Regions from separate parts of the Homo sapiens genome. Here region 2 is linked to region 1. The links are contacts of gene promoters, found by promoter capture Hi-C in human tissues and cell types (Jung and others, 2019). All regions are on one chromosome and are shown on one strand. Each heading gives the region's core, a stretch centred on a gene start or on the middle of the fragment in contact. The rest is flanking DNA. Distances are from core to core; before and after follow the strand shown. Region 1 holds the start of SCUBE3 (signal peptide, CUB domain and EGF like domain containing 3). Region 2 overlaps TCP11 (t-complex 11).

What was found. The method cuts DNA at HindIII sites, captures the fragments that hold promoters and counts their contacts. A contact is called where the count stands out against the background at its distance.
Region 2: a fragment that was not itself captured here is called in contact with the fragment with the promoter of SCUBE3 in region 1 in 6 of the 25 tissues and cell types used here (IMR-90 fibroblasts, bladder, dorsolateral prefrontal cortex and 3 more).

Annotation. Positions count from the first base shown.
Region 1 is chr6:35,209,252-35,216,702 of GRCh38, forward strand. SCUBE3 (signal peptide, CUB domain and EGF like domain containing 3) reads left to right here and starts at 4,705. Exons shown (of 22, transcript NM_152753.4): 1 at 4,705-5,252. The coding sequence starts at 5,168. It overlaps LOC112267955 (a long non-coding RNA gene), which reads right to left and starts at 4,429. Exons shown (of 3, transcript XR_002956343.1): 1 at 3,378-4,429. RefSeq lists a silencer at 4,729-4,838. The HindIII fragment of the contact is 11,734 bases long and covers 1-7,451 here.
Region 2 is chr6:35,112,425-35,119,875 of GRCh38, forward strand. TCP11 (t-complex 11) reads right to left here. Exons shown (of 10, transcript NM_001370687.1): 9 at 6,804-6,967; 10 at 5,651-6,077. The coding sequence ends at 5,845. Among named protein-coding and RNA genes, the nearest start is that of TCP11, 25 kb to the right of the region's middle. The HindIII fragment of the contact is 6,471 bases long and covers 1,433-7,451 here.

The DNA.
Region 1 (7,451 bases), core at 3,455-5,954:
GTGGCAAGGTAACTCAGGAGTGGATGTGGGCAGAGAGGAGGGGTGGGAGGAAACTGGGGTGAAGGGCCAAGGGAGCTAAACTGGAGGTGGCCTAAGTGTCTGGAGGAGAGGCTGGAACAGGTGTGGGCAGCTTGGATTGGGTTCCCTCTGCCCCATGTCTTGGCAGGGCTGCCTGTGGACCTCTCTGTAAAGCCAACACTAAGGGCCTGGGAACAAGGTACTCCTAAAATCCCAGCGCTGGGAAACAGACTTTGAGAGAGGGTTACTTCCAAGCCTCTGCCTATATGGCAAAATGACTCCTGAGCTACCCTGAAGGAGTGCAAAGCAAGGACAGAGTCAGCCTGTCCACCAGCCTAGTAAGATCCCCTCCCTCTGATTAGGGTGTGAGTGGCAAAAGTGTATCAAGTCTCTGTGAATTCAGAGGAGGCAGTGTAGACAGCTGAGGAGGTATACAAGCTTCAGAGTCAGGCCTGGCCCCAAGTCCTGGCTTTCTTCTTTCTTAGTCTGTCATCCTGGGTAAGTTAATCTACCTGAGCCTCAGTTTTCCCACCAATAAAATGGGGATAACAATTCCTGCCTTACAGGCTCGTGATGGAGTGCCTGGTATAGTGCCTGGAACATAGAAAGCACTTGGTAAATGGTAGCTATGAGCTCTAATTTGTGTCTCGGGGTGTCTATGTCTTCTTAAGGTAGAGTAGGAGGTGCAAGACAGTAGGGATGGAGAGACTCCAGAGCTACCTAGTGGGCAAGTGAATATTCTTCTAACTGCATAATGTATAAGTGCTGATGACAAGGGCAGTGTGCTGGAATGCATGGAATTTTTGGAACCTTCTCAGTAGGTATGTATGACAGACAGGAACCTGTTGGGGGTGGTGAGAATCTAGCCCAGTTGGCTGTGCTCACACCCAGTGGCATCAAAGCCTAATCTGGGACAAGGCTGCTTCTTCCCACCAGCCACTACTATACCTTTGTTATCAAACCCTTGGGCTTTTTTATTTTTATTTTTTTTTTGAGCTCTGTCGCACAGGTCAGAGCAGTGGCACAATCTCGGCTCACTGCAACCTCCAACTCCCAGGTTCAAGTGATTCTCCTGCCTCAGCCTCCCAAGTGGGTGGGATTACAGGCGTGCACCACCACACCTGGCTAATTTTTGTATTTTTAGTAGAGACAGGGTTTCACCATGTTGGTCAGGCTGGTCTCAAACTCCTGACCTCAAGTGATCTGCCCACCTTGGCCTCCCAAAGTGCTTGGATTACAGGTGTGAGCCACTGCAGCTGGCCCCAAACACTTGGGCTTTTGTTCTTCTGAGAAGTAGTGGAAAGAACAACAATAGCCTCTACCTATTAAATGCCTACATGTGCCAGTGCCAGGTGTTTTCTATATATTATCTCATTTAATTAACACCAATAACCCTACGAGGTTTTTATCCCCTATGTCAGATGAGAAAACTGAAACTCCCTGAGATTGAGTAATTTCCCTGAAGTCACAGAGGTAGAAAGCACCAGAGCTGAGATTTGAATTGCAGGTTTGTTTAGAGCCCACACAGACACTGATGGACGGACACTTTTGAGGTCATATAACCATATCTATTTTCCAGGTGAGGAAGCTGAGGCTCAGAAAAGTGAAACAACTCACCAAGAAAAATAGATGGCTGGGAAATGGTAGGGCCTAACAATGATCTCAGGGCAATCTACTTCCAGCTTGTATGTGCTCTCCATTAGACTATATGGCACTGCCCATCGAGGTAGGGTCATTGGACTCATTTTATATATAGGGAAACTGAGGAGCAGAAAGAAAAAGCAACGCTCATGGAAGGAGACTTTGCAGGGGAGGGGAAACCCCTGAGCCTGGTGGGCCCTGGCAGAAGGATCCCTAAACAGGACTGAACCAAGATCTATCAGCTAGGGGATCCCTGACCCCTGCCAGTCTTCTCCTCAGACATTTTCAGGAGCAAGTAGAATGAAACAAATGTCAGAAGCATCCCTGAAGGAAAATGAAGCCCCAAAGCAAACTGCAACCTTAGAGGTGCGTGTAGGAGGCCCAGAGCCCACTGGACATTTTGCCCCTGCTGGTTATGATATGGCACGTGCTGCTGCTGCTTTTGTAGTACCACTTGCAAGTGCCATCTTGTTGTTCCTTCCCTGTCATCTTCCTGAGTTACTGTCCAACTGAGTCCCTGCAGAAGAGGACAGGGCAAAAGGCAATATGAATTGGACCAGCACCTCAATTCACAGTGTCCTGGTGATATAAGCCCTGCTTCTACTCCTGTAGAATAGTCTGAAGGGCTGAGGGTACTCTGGAATCAGATTGGGTGAGTGGCAGCAGGAGAGAAGAGCAGGGAACTGCCTCTTTTTGCCCAGATGTGGAGGAGTAGCTCATCTGGTCCAAGAGGAAAAGAGGAAATCATCAGAGGAAAACTGGTAGGATGAGATAAAAGGCAACTACGGGGCATAAAAATCAATCTTCCAGAGACATAGTGGCTTAGGTGGAAGAACCCACCAAACCTCCCTCCCTGAAAGCCAGGGCAATATCCGTACTCAGAGGGCCGGGAAATCACCCTGAACTGAAGGCCCCAAATAACCCATAATCCCCCTATAGAATCCTCCTTGCCCACCTCAAGGAGGATGTAGGGGCCCTCCCTCCAACCCCCCAGGGACCCGGAGGAGCTACACTAGTGTCCAAAGAAGGCAGAGGCAGAGCAAAGCAAGGCAGCGTGCCATCTCCCCTCCCAGCCGTGGGGGAGCTCCTCGGCTCTCTCTCTCTGTGCCCCCATGGAGATCACAGACACCGTCCGGCAACCTCCACTTCTTTCTCCTTTTTTGAAACCATTCTCTTGTTGGGGGCAAAAAAGATGGCAAATTTACACTTGTCCTCCAACCCTACACATAATTGGTGGCAGCAGGCAAAACCGCTGCAAGGGGAGGGTTTTGCCAGTGGAATGAAGGAGGGAGGGCATCTTAGAGTGACAAGGATGGGAGGGACCTCAATCATCTGACCCAGCCTTGCTGTGGCCTCCACACCATTCCCATGATCTATGTGCTCCCATCCCAAAGGTCATCTTTGATGCTATGCAAGGTTCTCCAGGACTCCTCCCCCAGGCTTCCTTGGGGCACTGCCCCCTTTCCACCACTGAGTGAATCCACTACCCTCTTGTTTTCTGAGGAAACTGAGGCCCATTGACATATGACTTGTTCAAAAGTAATCTTCATCCCAGGATAAGAAGTTTGAGTCTGTTTCCATCCTACTTTTCCACTGAATCCCTAGGAAAGGAAGGGCTCAGCTCTTCTCCCTGGTGGACAGCACCATTGCCAACAAAGTCCTCCCCTTGCCCCAGCTGATGTGGGCAGCCAATATGGAAGGTCTCAGAACTGAATCACCTTTGAGGAGATCTTGGTCATTGCCTCTTCCTCCTGGGTACGCTGAGGGCTCTGTGAGGCTAGTCTGGGTCCTAGCAGCATCTTCCCTGTAGAAAACTGGACCTGGCCTGGTCTCATTCTGAACACAGCCTCACACTCCAAGAAAGTCTTCATAGCCTTTCAAGAGGTCTTTCCTCTTTCCCTTACAATGGAAGGAAAGAAGATACAGAGTGGGTGAACAGTCAAGAGGCAGCATCCATGGTTGGAAGACCCTGCTCCTTCTGCGGTTTGCCCCTGTTTTAAAAATATCCTTTCTCTTTCCTCTGCTTCCCCTCAGTTGGAAGGATGAAGGGTTCAGAATGGACCAGTCAGGACCACCTCTTGAAGCGGGGTGCAGGTTTGGAGGAGCCTCTTGTACCTGTCTCTATGTCTCTGTGTTTATACACATAGACATGATTCTGTGGGGTAGCTTTCGCCCCTGTGCTGACCACATGAGAGTGTCTGTATGTGAGTCCATGTCTCTGCGGGTAGGGTGGTTCATTAGGCTTACCTCCAAGGCCTTAACTGCAAGGGAGTCTGCCCTGGAGCTGGCAGTTTTAGCAGGCGGAGGCTACTTTCTTTTTGGTCCTCAAAGTGGACTCGCATCTAGGAATGGGGACTGAGTCTTGAGGTTGGGGGTGTGGTAGGTGTAAAAGTTGAGAGGTTGTTACTCGGCCTGGTGTCGGAGGCGGTGTGTTCCGAGGTCCTATGTCCCCTGTCAGGCTGTGTCGGTGGACACGCCCGAGTGCCCGTGTGTCCGTGTGTCCACGTCTGCCCCAGCCTCCCCAACACCTCGCACCCTCTTTGTCTCGGGTGGAGGTGTGCGTTCAAACCTGGCGCCGCACGGCCGTCCTCGCGAGCGAGCGCGGGGACGCACCCTCGCTCCCCGACTCTTTCCTAGGGGAGCGAGGACGAGTCGGAGCCCGGTGCTGTTTGGTCTGGAGCCGAGCGGAGCTTGCATTGATCCATTGATTGCGCGCGGTCTGCGCCTGACCTCCCTGCTCCCGGGGAAGCCGTCTCCATGGAGACCAGGCCCGCTCCCCCATCGCCGGATTGTAAATTCCTGCAGGCAGCGGCCCGGCAGCCTGGGGAGGGGGCCACCGCGCCCGGGCGCGCAGGGGGAGCGGCCACCGCGCCGAGGCCCCATTTGAAAGAAAAAAGGGCACGAAAAAGGAGGTGGTGGAGAAGGAGGAGGAGGAGGAGGAGGAGGAGGGGGAGGAGGAAGAAAACGAAAAGGAGCGAGGAGAGGAGGAGAAAGAGGAGGAGGAGGAGAAAGGCGAAGAAAAAGAGCCTGAGAGACGGAGAAAGAGCGAGAGAGGAAGAAAGAGAGGCAGAAAGGGCGTGTTTCTGGCGCTGCGTTTCCCCTCCCCTTTCTCAGGTCCTTCGCTCGGGCTCTGCGCGCTCTCCGGCTGCAGCTCTCTCCCGGCGAAGCTGGGAATTGGGTGGGATTACACGGAGCAGCCCCGCCGCCGCCGCTGGCAGAGGCCGGCTTGGAGAGGGCGGGGGTTCCCCTCCGTCAGTCGCCCCTGGCGCCCCTCGCCTCGTCGCACTCTCCGCCTCGCTCTCCCCGACGTCCGGCCAGGAGGAGCCGGTAGCATCGGGAGCCTCGCGCCGAGGGCGCCGCGGTCCGCGCCCCGCGACTGCAGCCCCCGGCCTGGCCCCGGCGGGGCGCCCCCTCCCCTCCCCCTCCTGCGAGCTGGGATCCGGCCGGCTTCCGCCCTCCCCTGGCCGCGAGACCGGCCCCGGCGGCTGGGCCGCCAGTAGCTCCAGCCATGGGCTCGGGGCGCGTACCCGGGCTCTGCCTGCTTGTCCTGCTGGTCCACGCCCGCGCCGCCCAGTACAGCAAAGCCGCGCAAGGTAAGGAAGGAGGGGCGCGCGGCCTGGGGGCTGTCCTGGCTGCTGGGCCTCAGGGCCTAGGAGCGATTCCCGAGGGGCAGGGCAGGTGCTGGGGAGCGTGCTGCTGTCAGAACCCGGCTCTGTGCACCCGGACTCCCCGGCCAGGGGCCCGACCGCTGGGCGCTGCGCCCCGAGCGAAAAGCCGGACAAGCTGGGGGCGGCAGAGAGGAGTGAGAAACTCTTGGGGGCGGTGGGCAGAAGAGACCACGCGCCTCAGAATTCCGCTCGACTTCATCCACTCCCAGCATCTTCGAAAGACTTCTTGTCTTCCAAAATCTGAGAGAGAATTTTCTCTTCTCTCAAACATTGCCAGAAACTTACGCTGTGGCCTGGAGAGACTGAGGGAATAATGAAAACTTTTCAGCCGTGCCGTATATTTCTTTCCCTTACCCCCAACCCGCATGCAAAGTTAGACATTTCTAAGTTGATGCCTTATCAGTGGAAAAATGTTGAAGAAAAATAGGATCTTTTATGGAAAAATCAACTCATCTCTCACCGGATGGTAGGGGGCTGAAGAAGAGAAGAAAATTTCTGTGACTGGCTCCCGACAGGAATGTTGCGTTTCTGCCTCTTTGGGGTGAAATCTCTTTCGTCTTGCATGGCTTTCATTTCTTATCATAATATTTATTTATTAAGGCCTCGGGTTTCCAATTCCATTTAAATCCAGGTCAGAATTGCATTAAAATAACAAAGTAGAATTCCAGGCCGGGGAGCTCTGACAGATCCCTCTAGGAATTAAAGAGAGACAGGGAGGCCTCCCGCCCCCGTCCCTGACCCCCAGCTCATCGCCTGGCAGGTCCCAAGGCTGTGCAGGCAGAGACTAGGCTGATGTACTACAGTTCTCTCGGGACAGTTTCTCCTCCCCCTTGACCTCTTGCTGTACCCCTCCCCCATCGTGTCCTCACCGACAAGAGATTTATATGGACAAAAAGAAAATTCCTCCTGGCAAGGTTTTGCCCAGGAGAGTATGATTCTGCCTATTGTCCCAGGGGCTCCTGAAGCCAGCTGGGTGAGGAGATGGCTGGGCCAGAAGGAAAGTTGAACTTGGGAGTTGGGGAAGCCTGAGTGTCCGACACAGGTCGCTGTGTCCCAGAGCCTGAGCGTTTGGCTCTTAAGCTGCTCTGTTGTATTGGATGGGCTCCTGCTCTGTGAAGAGGAAGGTGCTGTATCAATGCCGCCCTCCTCTCCCCAAACACTGCCTCTTCAGCTAACCTCTTCCCCCTCCAACCTGTCCTTTCACAGAACTGAAACACTAGAGATCCTCAGCTGTCAAATACTGGACCCTGCCCCCACACCTTCCAGCCCCACACTGCCTCTTTTCCAGTCCTGGTTCCAGACAGCGCATCGCCACTGCCACCCCCAACCTGGGAGCAGCCCCTCTCCTCACTGTGGATTTGTGTTTTCATAAACAAAGCTGGCTTTTGTAGTGTGTGCTGACTTACTCATAACATGGAATTAGGTGGGGAGTTTAGTCTGAAGGAAGGAACAGATATCATGAAGTAACCTAGAGACAAGATAAGGGCCTCTTTCAAGTTGGAGCCAGTGTCTGTAGTGGCCTAGTGAGGCTGTGGACCAAAGGAGAAGCAGTGTATTCGAGGGGGGCCCAGGGGCAGATGGAGACCCCTCCAAGGGACAGGTGCCATCAAGCCAAGGCACTCAAGTATGGGAGATCAGCTCATGATTCAGGAACGGGAGTCAGAATCCCTGCATGGTACTCCAGGGCTTCCACTTTCATTGGACTCCCTGCTGGGTACTGAGGAACATGCTGCCAGAGTGAAGGCCCCTGCCCTCAAGGAACTTAGAGTAGTTTTTGTCCCCAGCTTATCTCATTCACAGGCCACCCTTCCTGTGACTGGACCGCAGTTAGCTTGGTATCCTCCTTCTTTTCTTCTGATCCCTAAGCTTGGCCTAGAATGGAAGCCTTTCATTGACCCTTCTCTTCAGGAAATCTACAAACCCCATCTGCCAGAGGTTGCCTAATAGCAGGTTTGCTGGGTTACAGGGATGTCTCTGGACACAAACTTGCAGGCAGATGCTGCAGGAAGAACTAGTACTGACCAGGCGGGGCAACCTTACAGCCTTACCCATAGACACAGTCTGTGAGCATCAGGGAGGCCTTACCTTCAAACATATCTCCTGGTTATCAGCAGTGCCAGAAAG
Region 2 (7,451 bases), core at 3,418-5,917, 97 kb before region 1:
GGAATTATCCAATAGATGTAAAGTTTCAGTTATGCAAAATCAGTAAGTTCTAGAGATCCGCTGTATAACAAAGTACCTACAGTTAATAATATGGTATTGTGCACTTTATGTTAAGAGGCTAAAACTTAAATGTTCTTAGCAAAAAGCAAAACAAAACAAAAAAACACATGGAAGTTTTTGGAAATGATGGATATGTTTGGTACTTTGTGGTGAAAGTATCATGGGTCTATGCATATGTCCAAACTCATCAAGATGTATCCATTAAATATGGGCATTATTTGTGTATCCATTTTACTTCATCAAAGCTTAATATTAAAAAATAAACACCATTTGCAATCACTCAAAAAATGAAATCCATATGTGTAAATCTAACAACATACATACTAAACTTGTGTGTTAAAAACTATGCAATGCTGATAAAAGATCTACATTGATCACATAGGAATTTCAGATTTAGAAACTTTTTGAGGCTAAGAAGCCAAATCAAGGCAGATTTTAGATTTTACCTATAGTCTTAAGGTTCTTGGGCCTGCTAGAAAGTGATAGTTTTTACTCATTAACTGTCAGGCTGGAGGCTGGGCACAGTGGCTTATGCCTGTAATCGCAGTACTTTGGGAGCTGAGGTGGGTGGATCATCTGAGGTCAGGAGTTCGAGACCAACCTGACCAACATGGTGCAACCTTGTCTCCACTAAAAATACAAAAATTAGCCAGGCGTGGTGGCATGCGCCTGTAGTCCCAGCTACTCGGGAGGCTGAGAACCTGGGAGGTGGAGGTTGCAGTGAGCCAACATTGTGCCATTGCACTCCAGCCTGGGCAACAAGAGTGAAACTCCATCTAAAAAACAAAAAACAAAAACAAAAAAACAAAAAACAAAATAAAACAAAACAACAGCTGGGTGTGGTGGCTCATGCCTGTAATCTCAGGCCAAGGCAGGCAGATCACTTGCAGCCAGGACTTCAAGACCAGCCTGGCCAACATAGTGAAACCCCATCTCTACTAAAAATACAAAAACTAGTTGGGGGTGGTGGCAGGCACCTGTAATCCCAGCTACTCGGGAAGCTGAGGCACGAGAATCGCTTGAACCCAGGAGGTGAGGCGGAGATTGCAGTGAGCCGAGATCATGCCACTGCACTTCAGCCTGGGTGACAGAATGAGACTCCGTCTCAAAAAAAAAGAAAAAAAGAGAACATATACATAATTAAAATCAGAAATAAGAGTGGGGAAATTACTACCAACTTTACAAAAACAAAAAGGATTATAAGAGTATACTATGAACAATCCATATGTAAAAAATTAGATAACCTAGATAAAATAGACAAAATCCTAGGCATATCAATTACCAAAATGGATTCAGCACGAAAAAGAGAATCTAAATACAAGTAAAGAGTTTGGTAATCAAAACTTCCCAACAAAGAAAAGTCCAGTACTACATGGCTTCACTGGTGAATTCTACCACTCATTTAAAGAATTAACACCAATCCTTCTCGAACTCTTCCTCCCCCAAAAAACAGAAGAGGCCAGCATTACTTTGATTCCAAAGCCAGACAAAGACACCACAAGAAAACTACAGACCAATATCTCTTATGAATACAGATGCAAAAATCCTCCACAAAGCACTAGCAAACTGAATCCAACAGCATATTAAAAGGATTATGCACCATGATCAAATGGGACTTATCCCACAAATGCAGTATTGATTCAATATAAGAAAAATCAAGGCCGGGTGCGGTGGCTCACGCCTGTAATCCCAGCACTTTGGGAGGCCGAGGCAGGTAGATCACGAGGTCAAGAGATCGAGATCATCCTGGCTAACACGGTGAAACCCCGTCTCTACTAAAAATACAAAAAGAAATTAGCCGGGCATGGTGGCGGGTGCCTGTAGTCCCAGCTACTCGGGAGGCTGAGGCAGGAGAATGGCATGAACCTGGGAGGCGGAGTTTGCAGTGAGCCGAGATCGTGCCACTACACTCCAGCCTGGGCGATAGAGTGAAACCCCATCTCAAAAAAAAAAAAAAAAAAAGAAAATCAAACAACATATCATTAATAGACTGAAGGAAGAAAAGCATATGATTATCTCAATTGATGCAGAAAAAGCATTTGACAAAATCCAAGGCAAAGTGTGGTGGCTCATGCATGTAATCTCAACATTTTAGGAGGCCAAGATGGGAGGATCTTTTGGGCCCAGGAATTTGAGACCAGTGTGGGCCACACAGTGAGACCTCATCTCTACAAAAAATACAAAAATTAGCCAGGCATGATGGCACACGCCTATAGTCCCAGCTACTCAAAAGGCTGTGGCAGGAGGATCACTTGAGGCCAGGAGGTCAAGGCTACAGTAAGCCGTGATCGCCCCACTGCACTCCAGCCTGGGTGACAGAGCGAGACCCTATCTACAAAAAAAGAAAAAAAAAAAAATCAAACAAAAAACTCAATACCGTTTCATGATTAAAAAAAAAAATTGTGAGCAAACTAAATAGAAGACAACTTCCTCAACACGATAAAAGGTATTTATGAAAAATCCATAGCTAACTGTATACTCAATGGTGAATGACTGAAAGCTTTCCCCCTAAGATCAGGATGCAAGACAAGTGCTTTTATCACTGCTATTAGACATTGTACTGGAAGTTCTAGCCAGAGAAATTAGGCAAGAAAAATAAATAAAAGGGATCAGAATTAGGAAAAAAAAATGCAAAACTATTCCTATTCTCAGATAACATGATCTCATATGTAGAAAATACTAAAGAATTCACAGAGTATTTGATATAATAAACTCAGTGAAGTTGCAGGGTACAAGATCAACAAACAAATTGGTTTTACTTTTATACACTGCCAATGCACAATACGAAACAGAAATTAAGAGAACAATTCTATTAACAATTACATCCAAATGAATAAAATACTTAGGAATAAATTTAACCAAGGAAGTGCAAGGCTTGTACACTGAAAACTATAAAAGGTTGCTGAAAGAAATTAAAGACCTAACAAAAGGAAAAGACATTCTGTGTTCATGGATGGGAAGACAAGATAGCAATACTCCCCAAATTTATATATATATATCTCCTTATCAAAAATTCCAACTTCCTGTTTTACAGAAATGGATCCTAAAATTCATATGGAAATGGAAGGGATAGCCACATAATCTTGAAAAACAACCAAGCTGGAGAACTTATACTTCCTAATTTCAAAACTTACAAAGCTTACAGTAATCAAAACAATATCTTACTGGCATAAGGATAAACATATAGATAAATGGCATAAAATAGAGTCCAGAAATAAACCCTTGCATATATGGTCAATCGATTTTTGACAACAGTCAAAGACCAAGACCATTCATCAATGGGAATAGGACAGTCTCTTCAACAAATAATGCTAGGAAAACTGGATGTCCACATACAAAAGAATAAAGCTGGATCTGTTCCTTACACCATATACAAATACTAACTCAAAATGGTAGTTTCTCAATAAATTAAGCAGGGATTACCATAGAACTCAGCAATTCTATTCCTGGATATATGGGTAGACACTCAAAAACATAGAAGACAGGTGTTCAAACAAAAACTTATGTATGAGTTTTGTAAATAACGCCAAGTGTTCACTGTGGCATTGTTTACAAAAGCCAAAATGCTCAGCTCTATATGTTGAAAGGTACACATAGCCAGAGAAGAGAAAACTAAGGGCTTGCTGGCTTCTCAGCTAGTTGAGGGCTGAAGTCATACCCATGGACTAATGAGTGGATAAGCAAAATGTGGTATATTCATGTGACAGAATATTACTTAGCTATAAAAAGAATGAACTACCAATACATGCTAGAACACAAATGAATGTTGAAAAATGAGTGAAAGAAGCCAGTCACAAAAAGCTACATATTATATGATTCCATTTATAGGAAATATTCAGAGTCAGAAAGCCCATTGAGACAGAAAGATTAGTGGTTGCCAGGGGAAGGGAATGGGGGAAAATGGGCAGTGACTGGTTACTGGAATGGGATTTCCTTTGGTGGTGATGAAAATGTTCTAGAACTAGTTAGTCGTGATGGCTGTACAACATTCTGAATGTACTCAATGTCACTAATAGCTTTCATATTACATGTATTTTCTCCACAATTTAAAATACAAATATACATTTTTTTAAAATTCCCTCAAACCAGTGGGCAGGATTGAATGGAGCTATCTTTCCTTGTTTAGGGACAAGATCCCTGTCTCCTCCATGAGAAAGCATAAGAAAATAAATTCAAATTTTCTAAGGTACTGATGAGTCCCTATTTTAATTGTGAAGTACAAAGCAAGGTTCTATTATCAGTCCAGGGTCTGCACCTGCCAACTGGACAATCTTCTTCCCAGGAATCCCTTCAGAGTACTTTTACCTCTAAAATAATGAGGTTTCCAAAACGTGGATTTTTTAAAAATTCAAATTAATAGTTACAAATCAGAGAATCCAACTGGGCAAGCCTCACTGTTTATTAAACATACCACTTTATCTGGGCTTCCCCATCCTGAAGCTGTCTAGTTATAAGACGAAAAATGCAAATGATCCAGGCCCTCCAGCTTTTCTAGTCATAGTAAAAGTCACATTGTGTTGATCTAGCTCTGTCACCTACCTAGGATCTACCCTCTAAAAAAGGAAATCAATTAGAAGGAAACACTGGGCCTAATGGAACTCAAATCCCCCTTCTGTTGTTCTTCCTAGATTAGGTGTGTTAACACTCAGCAACTTCCATCACCTAAAATGATGAGAACATTGTTTTTCTTCACCTTGCCTTGAGAACACATAATTGAATTTCCATTTTCTAAATCTGAACTGAACATTTTCTTCATTTCAGCCATACTAGGTTGGAGCTGGTCTGCTGCAGTCAGCCTGAAAATGAGTTGGTCTCTACAATCTCAGGAGACAAGCCCAAATCCTTCCTAGAACCTCTCTTATTTGTGATGCCAACAACAGCTTACAACCACAACTGCCCAGAATGGAGAAGCCAGAAGGATGGAGGCTGCTCCACCTCTGAATGCCCACATCACCTCTGCCTGGAAAAACCGGGTGTTCTAAGCTTAGAGATGAGGGAAAGGAGACTTACTGGGCTAGAGAACAGGACCAGAATAAACTTGATACAAGTGAGTCACAGACCTAACTGTCCAAGTCTGAACTCTGGATAACTTGAGAGAGAGGTCCCATGAACTCTGAACTTGTCCTCAACAGAATGCTTGCTTGTAGCCAATATCCATTTTCATCCAGCCCCGGGTATGCATATTGCTTCAGACCATGCAACAGAAGAGGAAACTAAGGCTCTTAATATCCCTTGACTTCTTGTTGCATTCTCTGAAACCTTTAGGGAAATTTGGTCCTAGAAATGAACTAACTTCCCTAAACCATGTCCTCTCCTGAGGTGAACTGGACAAAACAAAGGCTTCCAAAAGAAACCCTTATATTCACAATTTGGATAATTCCAGAGGTCTAAGAGCTCCCCAGGAGTAATGCTTTACCCTTAAAGAAAATAAGGCTAGCACCTGGGTATCTTGGCTGTTCAGCTCTATATGTTGAAAGGTACACATAGCCAGAGAGGGGAAAACTGAGGGCTTGCTGGCTTCTCAGCTAGTTGAGGGCTGAAGTCATTAGGGCTTGGCCTCAGCTGCAGCACAGGAAAAATGGAGGATTTCTTGCACTTAAGAAGTTTATTAATGAATGGGTATGGACCAGTTGGTGTTTACATGCTTGATCCCTACAGCCTTGGTGTACTGGCTGCAGGGCCTGGGATAGAAGCTCACTGTCTGCTGGTCACTGGTGATGTTACTCCAGGAAGATGATGGGCCTCCTCTTGGGTCCAAGGTACCAGGGCTCTGAGCCGACGCTATCAAACAGACTCCACTTTTGTTTCCAGTGCCTGGGCTGGGGAAATGAGGGTTTTTAGGATCTCAGTGTAGTAGGGACCAAACACCTGCTGATTGTGATGTGTCAAGTTGACAAACTTTTGGCCCAGTTCTGCCAGTTCTGCTTCAATGAGAGTAAGGCCTCCAGGAAGGTCTAATAGAGACCGCTGCACACCAAGAACCAAACAGCATTTGAGAAACAAATGGATCCGCTGATCTGTGAGCAGGAAAAGACACTGATAAGGGAAAAGGCAAACAGATTTCAGGGAGAAAATTCCCCCTGCACTCTACTCACCCATGTTCTAAGTTAACAGATATGTACCAACCTGCCCCCCTACCTAGAGATAATGAAATTTGTTTTGTTTGGAAAGGGGGCTGCTATCTTGCTCTCAAGGACAAATATAAAAAACTAGTGTGTTAGTAAATTTCAGATTATTCAAAAGATTGTTTAAGTAGCCATCAGTTAGATCCTAGTGAGTGTTTGACATAACAGGAGGAACTTAGACTGATCCTTCAGATGGCTAAGGTTAGGAGCAGGCTGGCCAAGTTCATGGCCTCCACTCCAGCATGAGGGTAGGGGATTCCCCACTATAGGAACATGTCTTCCAGCTAAATTCAGCATTAGTTTCTTGTTGGGAGATGGGGGAATGTCAGATTTCTTGGGTGCCATCAGAGAATGACCTGTAGGCCCAAGTGACTTAACCAGGTCGGCTGGACATATCCCACACCTAGAAGTCATGAATTTCTGGGTGCAAATCATCCTGAGAACCACAGTTAGTCTTTAAACTGAGACGGATATGATTTCAACCCAGCATTTTGAAAAAAATCAAGGCTAAACAATGACGTACCTAATGACCATGCTTCATGTTGTTAAAGGTTGGGGTTCCACGGTTGGGATCTATCTCTTCCCTCACCATTCTTACTACCCCACAAGCATACTCACCAATAACACTGCAGACACAGTTCTCCTTCTTGGCAATGTTCTGGAGCTGTCCCATTAGAGATGCTGTATTATCACTGCTTAGAGCAACAAGGCCCATATTCTTGAGGCTTTGATGGATTTCCTGAGATACCTGTTCACTCACAGTCAGTATAGCTTCCTCAGGCCTAGACCATGAAAGAAAGTAAGCTGGCACCCACCAGGTAACCCTGGCATAGGCCCAGGGCCCAGCATGCTGTATACCAGATGCCAGGCCCACTTGAGGGAGAATGTCAGCCACCCTCTCCACCCCTAAACCCCAGCCCCTGGCAGGCTATAGGGCCCAGTGGGTAGGTACAATGTCCTCACTGTAACCCTCAAGACACCAGCTATTCTCTATATGTGGCACTGTGTTCTACTTCTTAGCAAACAAGGTAAATGATAAAATCAACTCTGGAAAAGTATTTAGTTGTGCTCTTGGATCCACTCAGCATTCTTTAGTCCCATGGACTTTATTTTTATATATATATGTTTAAGACTTTCTTAGGCATTTTCCAGAATCATCTGTCCCACCTCATCAGTTATAACTACAACCTGGCCTTCTGATTCCTCTTTTTCCTTTGGTGTGATGGCCTGCACACAGCGGGATGTTCAATAAATATTGCTGACCGA